Regions from separate parts of the Homo sapiens genome. Here region 2 is linked to region 1. Evidence: promoter capture Hi-C in human tissues and cell types (Jung and others, 2019). All regions are on one chromosome and are shown on one strand. Each heading gives the region's core, a stretch centred on a gene start or on the middle of the fragment in contact. The rest is flanking DNA. Distances are from core to core; before and after follow the strand shown. Region 1 holds the start of PCDH10 (protocadherin 10). Region 2 has its middle 220 kb from the start of LINC01256.

The links. Contacts are between HindIII fragments. The study calls those that stand out against the background at their distance.
Region 2: a fragment that was not itself captured here is called in contact with the fragment with the promoter of PCDH10 in region 1 in 2 of the 25 tissues and cell types used here (hippocampus and thymus).

The regions. Positions count from the first base shown.
Region 1 is chr4:133,147,271-133,151,367 of GRCh38, forward strand. PCDH10 (protocadherin 10) reads left to right here and starts at 2,024. Exons shown (of 5, transcript NM_032961.3): 1 at 2,024-4,097. The coding sequence starts at 2,871. PCDH10-DT (PCDH10 divergent transcript) reads right to left here and starts at 1,846. Exons shown (of 9, transcript NR_125885.1): 1 at 1,759-1,846; 2 at 1-6. RefSeq lists an enhancer at 1,768-1,827 and a silencer at 1,938-2,077. The HindIII fragment of the contact is 10,822 bases long and covers 1-4,097 here.
Region 2 is chr4:132,810,267-132,813,851 of GRCh38, forward strand. No RefSeq gene overlaps it. Among named protein-coding and RNA genes, the nearest start is that of LINC01256, 220 kb to the left of the region's middle. The HindIII fragment of the contact is 5,459 bases long and covers 1-3,585 here.

The DNA.
Region 1 (4,097 bases), core at 774-3,273:
GCAGATCTGAAGAAAAAGAAAGGGGGGAGGGGTGGAAGTACAGATGCAATACCGTATTAATATTCAGATACACTATAATCTCCTTTTCATTGATCCACAGGTCCCTTTATACACTGCCGCTCCATTCTCAGCCGCAGACGTGATGCTAAAATCATTTTAACTGCAGCGGTTTTCGCTTGGCTTTGGCCAGTCTTCAATTTACTGCAGCTGGAAAAGGATTAGCCATTTTTGCTGGAATCCTTTCCTTCTAAGCGCTCAAAGGCAGGACCCATCTTCATGAAAGAGCCAAGTGCGGGGGCCGGGGGGACCCGGCGTTGCGGGGAGTTGGGGCGCGGAAATCAGGGCAGTAGACGTGCATTCGCGGGACTCTCAGAAGCACGTCTCAGGCTACTATCACGCCCATGGACACTAGCCCTCCTTAACTCCTTGCCAGGAGGAAATGGCAACGTATCTCCAGGTCGGAAAACGACTCTACTTTTCCCGCAGGTTGTGGTGGTGTATTCTTGGGTCATTCATTACCAGAAAGCAGCAAAGGACCTTCCTATCTCTTTGCATAAAAAGGAGATTGAATAGGGGCTTCTTTCGTGAATAAACAACCAATTCCTTGCTAGTGGCCCATTAATTAAAAATATATATTTATAGATCTTTCCTTAGAGAACTGGCATTCTATCCACTCTCCAGCATTAAAGAGTTCGCGCTGTGTTTTAACTTCACAAGAACTAGCTATGTGGATGTGCCGCGTTGCCCCTGCGCCTCCGGAAGGGGCACTCACAGCTGGTCAAGCGCGTCCTTCGGAACTCGGGGAGGCTCCGTTGGGGCTTACACAGAGCTAAGCCCTGGGCCAGGGAGGATGGATGCAAGTACCGTGCATGTGCAAACGTGTTCGCAGATACCCGCAGCGGTGCACACTCGGGCCCCTCGTGTGCACGGGCCCTGCCCACCACCCCGCCCGCGTTCGCCGCCGCCCCACTGTCCTCATCCCGCGGGCTGACCCCAGGATTGGCAGAAATCAGTGGTCTAATCTAGCATGGTGGGTAAAGGGATCGATCTCCAATTGCCAAAAAAAAAATAGAAAATAGCCGGTGTTCCCAGCCGCTGCGTGGCACTTGGCCGCACAAGGCGCAGGGATATCAGAGGCGCTTTGCAGCGCTTGGCGGTGCTGTGTGCCGGATGCCCCAGAGCCCGGCGTTAGGATGGCGGGCTTGTAGGAAGCGGCTCAAATCAACTCCTCAGTCACTGATGAACGCGCTCACGGCTCGAAGCTAGGTCCTCGAGTGAGTTAATCTACTTGGTAAGTATTTTGTGAATATGTATTTTGGGAGGAAAGAAGCACGTCGAACGCGTCTGCCCGTCTGTAAGCGCTGTCATCCCCACATCCTTTAGCGTGAATTCCTCCGCTTTTTAGGAGTCACCTCCACCCCCTACTCCGTATGCTTCGCGCCTTTCCTCACGGCCCCGTCAGACCCCCTCACCTTTAGATTGACACATGCCATATAATACTCACTTTTAAAATGCCCTGCCAGTCTCTGCTAGGGTCCCTTAATTAGGTAACCCTTGCCAATTAGTGGGCCCTGCGCTACTTTTTCCCTTCTCGATGATTTATTTCCATGATGCGTATTAGGGAAAATACCTTAAAGGAAAAAGAATGTTAGCATCATTGGAAATCCCGCTCCTAGGAGAGGATATCGCAGCTGTTGCTATTATGTTTTCGCATTTGCTGATGCAAACAGGGGAACCTCTCTATTCCCTCCCCATTACCTGCGGCTGGGGACTGGGAACTTTCCGCGGCATTGTCCCCAGCCAGCGCCTCGGGACCTGCGGGGCTGTTCTCGCTCTCACACTCACACTCACCCCGGCCGCTCGGGCGAGAGTTCTGTCCCGCCCCGCCCGGCTGCCGCGTGACGTGTCTGTTTGGCGGCCAGTTTGGCCAATCATCGGCAGCTCGGTGGGTGGTGCTCCTGGGCGATTGGTTGGCAGAATGAGGGCGCTGCGCAAAAACGGAGAAGCCGAGCGCTCGGAGCTCAGAAACTGCCAGCCCAGACCACAGGCTCAGAGGCTGAAGCAGGAGGAAGGAAGGACTGGAAGGAAAAAGAGACAGGTTAGAGGGAAAGAGGCTTGGGAAGAAAACAGCAGAAAAGAAACTGCTCATTACACTTACAGAGAGGCAAGTAACGGTGGAGATGAGGACAGAGGGAACCAAGACTCTGAAAGACAAAAAATACAAATAGAGCGAAAGAGGAAAAAAATGTCAAGAAGAACATCCATCCGGAGAAATGAAGAGAATGAAAGTTTTAAGCTGCAGAGCCGTTCTGTGCTTTTCCGGCACAAAATTATATCGCTGATTTTAAGCCCTTTTGCATTTGCCAGCCGTTGACATTAAGAGGCATGTTTAACGGTGCCAACAGCATCTCCTTTTCCTTCTCCTCTTCCTCTTCTTCTTCTTCCTCCTCCTCCTCCTCTTTTTCCTCCTCCTCGTTCTCCTCCCATCAGCAAGAAGACAAACCGAGGACAGTCTTGAAATATCGAAATTTCCTCTTTGGGATTTGCCAGCGCCAAGACTGTCGGAATAAAGGACGCTGACTATTGTATTATTGTTATTTTATTAATTAGTCAGTGGAAAGATTACAGATGAGGAAAGGGGACGCCTGTCACCCTTCCTGTGCTAAGATTTAAAAAAAAATGAGGCTGGATTGCGGGAAGCTCTAAAATGAAGCAAAAGGAGTAAGATTTTTAAAGACAGAAAGCCACAGGAGCCCCCACGTAGCGCACTTTTATTTGTATTTTTTCAGATTTTTTTTTGTTTCGTGGTGGTGGGGGAGGTGATTGGGTGGCTGACTGGCTGCGGGAAGCTACTTCCTTTCCTTTTGGAGATGATTGTGCTATTATTGTTTGCCTTGCTCTGGATGGTGGAAGGAGTCTTTTCCCAGCTTCACTACACGGTACAGGAGGAGCAGGAACATGGCACTTTCGTGGGGAATATCGCTGAAGATCTGGGTCTGGACATTACAAAACTTTCGGCTCGCGGGTTTCAGACGGTGCCCAACTCAAGGACCCCTTACTTAGACCTCAACCTGGAGACAGGGGTGCTGTACGTGAACGAGAAAATAGACCGCGAACAAATCTGCAAACAGAGCCCCTCCTGTGTCCTGCACCTGGAGGTCTTTCTGGAGAACCCCCTGGAGCTGTTCCAGGTGGAGATCGAGGTGCTGGACATTAATGACAACCCCCCCTCTTTCCCGGAGCCAGACCTGACGGTGGAAATCTCTGAGAGCGCCACGCCAGGCACTCGCTTCCCCTTGGAGAGCGCATTCGACCCAGACGTGGGCACCAACTCCTTGCGCGACTACGAGATCACCCCCAACAGCTACTTCTCCCTGGACGTGCAGACCCAGGGGGATGGCAACCGATTCGCTGAGCTGGTGCTGGAGAAGCCACTGGACCGAGAGCAGCAAGCGGTGCACCGCTACGTGCTGACCGCGGTGGACGGAGGAGGTGGGGGAGGAGTAGGAGAAGGAGGGGGAGGTGGCGGGGGAGCAGGCCTGCCCCCCCAGCAGCAGCGCACCGGCACGGCCCTACTCACCATCCGAGTGCTGGACTCCAATGACAATGTGCCCGCTTTCGACCAACCCGTCTACACTGTGTCCCTACCAGAGAACTCTCCCCCAGGCACTCTCGTGATCCAGCTCAACGCCACCGACCCGGACGAGGGCCAGAACGGTGAGGTCGTGTACTCCTTCAGCAGCCACATTTCGCCCCGGGCGCGGGAGCTTTTCGGACTCTCGCCGCGCACTGGCAGACTGGAGGTAAGCGGCGAGTTGGACTATGAAGAGAGCCCAGTGTACCAAGTGTACGTGCAAGCCAAGGACCTGGGCCCCAACGCCGTGCCTGCGCACTGCAAGGTGCTAGTGCGAGTACTGGATGCTAATGACAACGCGCCAGAGATCAGCTTCAGCACCGTGAAGGAAGCGGTGAGTGAGGGCGCGGCGCCCGGCACTGTGGTGGCCCTTTTCAGCGTGACTGACCGCGACTCAGAGGAGAATGGGCAGGTGCAGTGCGAGCTACTGGGAGACGTGCCTTTCCGCCTCAAGTCTTCCTTT
Region 2 (3,585 bases), core at 294-2,793, 340 kb before region 1:
ATAATACATGCCACAATTCCAGTTAAAAATATTATAGAGAAAAATGCTAATTTTACATGCGACAGAAGCAAAATGCAGCAGCAGTCCTCTGATTTTATAACATTAGTTATTGTTTTCAACTAAAACCTACTCAATCTTTAATTATCAGTTAGGTCAGTTAAGTGCCCCAGGGATCTGAACAAGTTGATTTCAATCCCTTATGTGGCTTAACGCTTTATATAGAAAGGTACTTGTCATATCCTGAATCGGAGTCAATGTGTGTGAAATTGCTTTCAGTGTATCACAAGAAAGACTTTATTACTACAATTTTGAAACCATTAAGTACATTTAACATCTTCTTTTTCACTCTTCAATTCACTTTAGGTAAAGTTTATTTCTAAACATATGAGAATAATCCAAAAACAAAAATGTAAGATTATTTATCTTTTGTAATAATCAATTAACATTTTGGAAAACATGTTGTAAGTAGATATTGTTAAATTAATTACAAAAGTAATGAATTAGAAAAATAAAACATTTACTGACTTTTCCCAGATCTTGTTTTCTAGATCTAAATTCTACCCCAGGCTATTTATGTAGAAACTTCAATTCAAATTAGTGATGGTTACAGATGGATATCTAATGGGAGAATTTTGCCTCCGGTCTCTTCAAGCATGGTACTTTTAAAGAAAGCTTCTAACAATGCAAGTGATGCTCATTAACTAATTAGTGTACAGAAATTGAACAGAGACCCTGACCTTATTTGGTTGAATTGAGTTATAACCTCAAACAGAACATCAATAAACCCTTCATGGTAGACAAAAATATAGAAGTAGAAAAAAATTCCACTAAAACATGTCATTAAAAAGCTGTGGTTTTATTATGCCTTATTTTTTACAAACATGACTTTAAGACATTTATTCTAGGTCTCATTTTTACTTTGTACATGTAAAAACAATAATGGATTTTTTCCAGTTCAGCATACCTGTTAATGATTTTACAAACAATCATTAATCAACAGCATTGCCAGAGGGGACAGAAGTTATATTAACACTGTTATATCATTATCTTTATGTTCATAACTTCACTGGCTTAAACAGAGTATTTCTGTTTTATTACACGCCTAAAGAATCATATTCTCAGCAATTGCACATAAGTCCCCAAATCCCTGCTTTCTCTCCTTTTAGTTAGGAAAGGAGGGACTCACATGTCCTCATCTCTAAAAAGTGTATATTTTAAATTCTTTTGTGACTCAATAAGACTAGCTTCTAGTACATATCAAATATCTTATGAGAATGTCTGATGACTATCAATAGTACCCCAGAGTGTATGATTAAAACAAATAAATTATATTTCATCATCATGTCTCTGACCCAAAGTGATGTTGAAATAAAAATATTTCTTTTGTTTTAATCATAAGTATAATTACTATTCTTTAACCTCTGATATATATACACATATATGTGTATATATATTATCTCTTCAACTACAACTCCTGTATATATATGAATATAACTATTATTTAACATCTGATATATATATGTATGTATATATATATCAGTAGATACAGAAAATTCTATAGAAAGAGACAAATCCATAGAAAGAAAAAATTTTCTTTTAAACACGTTAATGGTAAATTTTGTGAGGGTATAGGACTTTTGTCTCAAATGTCAATTTATTTCAACTGTCATGTAACTCCCATTAAAGTACTTAAGAAAGTTATGAGATCTTCTTTCATTTTTATATAATCATTTTCCTGTGTAAATACATATGACTATTTTTATTTATTCTTGAAATTCAGGAATTTTAGTACTATATATCTGTTTTTTTAAATATTGCCACAGACTTAATGAGTACCTTTCATTTAAAAACTACTATAAAAATTCAACTTAAGGTTATAGTTTTTTGTTATTATTATTATTTTATATTGAGATGGAGTCTCGCTCTGTCACCCAGGCTGGAGTGCAGTGGCGTGATCTTGGCTCACTGCAACCTTCGCCTCCCAGGTTCAGGGGATTCTCCTGCCTCAGCCTCCCAAGAAGCTGGGATTACAGGCACCCACCACCAAGTCCAGCTAATTTTTGTATTTTTAGTAGAGACGGGGTTTCACCATGTTGGCCAAGCTGGTCTTGAACTCCTGATGTCGTGATTCACCTGCCTTGGCCTCCCAAAGTGCTGGGATTACAGATGTGAGCCACTGCTCCCAACCATTATTTTTTTTTAATTACAAACATATCATCTTTGTAAAATAATTATCTTCAAAATCAGTAACACTTTGCATTTTAGGTCTCATCATTTATGTCATAATTTCTCCAACATTTATTATTTGTCATGTGCTACAATCTTCCATATCTCTTATATATTTGTTATAAACAAAGTTTCAGTGCCTCAAAAGAAATAGCACTCGAACATAAAATTTTCTTTTTAATTCTCAGCAAGGCAAGTTACTTCTATAGAAGGGTGCACCCTTACAGAAGGAGCAATGGTGAGTGCACACTTGGATAAGGGAGGGGAAGGAGTTCGTACCCCTGACACAAGTGGCCCCTGCTGCTGTCTCATTCCCCTATTGGCTAGGGTTAGACTGCACAGGCTAAACTAATTCTGATTGGCTAATTTAAAGAGAGTGATGGGGTGAGTGGTTTGGTGGGAAAAATGGTTTTGACAGAGCAGGTAATCAGAATGAGTCAGGTGGAGTAGGTAATCGGAATGAGTCAGGGTGGAGCAGGCAGTAGAAAAAGGTTGCTTTATGAGGAAGTTAAGTTTAAAAGTAGTAGGCAAAGAATTGGACATACTGACATATTGATTATTTGAAAAGAAATTTAGAACTCATATCTAACAACCCCTCTTCTTGCACTGCCTTACAGCTCTTTCTTTTCAAACTTTTTAACATGTCTTGGCTTAGTTGTTCTGCTTGATTTTCCAAAAGAAGCAGCTTCTCTGGTTAAGGTGGAAGATAGTTAAGGGAGGTTTTAGTAAGTGCCGTTTTTATGAGCCTCTGCACCAACCCACGGATGCACAGTGTGACACAGAACCTGACAAGAATAAGTACACCCATTACAGCTGTGAGGGAAGCAAGAACTGAGGCTATTATCCTTTTCCACTTACTGAACCACTTTTCTAGCCATTCTGTAAAGGGGTCATTTACCACTGAGTTGTTGGCTAACTCATTGGACAGAGCAGTCAGACCCTGCAATGCCTTTGTTATACTTCCATCAGGAGCGGTATTGTTGGGATGAAGGTACAACATTGAGTTTTAATCATGATGCAAACTCCTCCTCTTTTTGCTAATATCATGTCTAAGGCTGTCCTATTTTCCCAAGCCATCTGGCTAGTAGCCCCTAATTGCTCAGCACTTCCTTTAACAACATCTCTAGTGTAGTTAATAAATCGCTGTTGGTTGTAGTAGCTGTACTTTACCCAACCTACATTTTTATTAATTGTCACCCACCAAAATATTGACTGAAATCCTGCAGCTATTTGATTTTGGGCTTTAAATTGATCTAGCATTCCCCGTGGGACTCCAGTTGTGTTTAAATAGACGTGAGAGTCAAAAGGCCCATAAGGGGCTTCTCTCGCTTTATGATGTCTTACTTTTCTTTTTCTGGT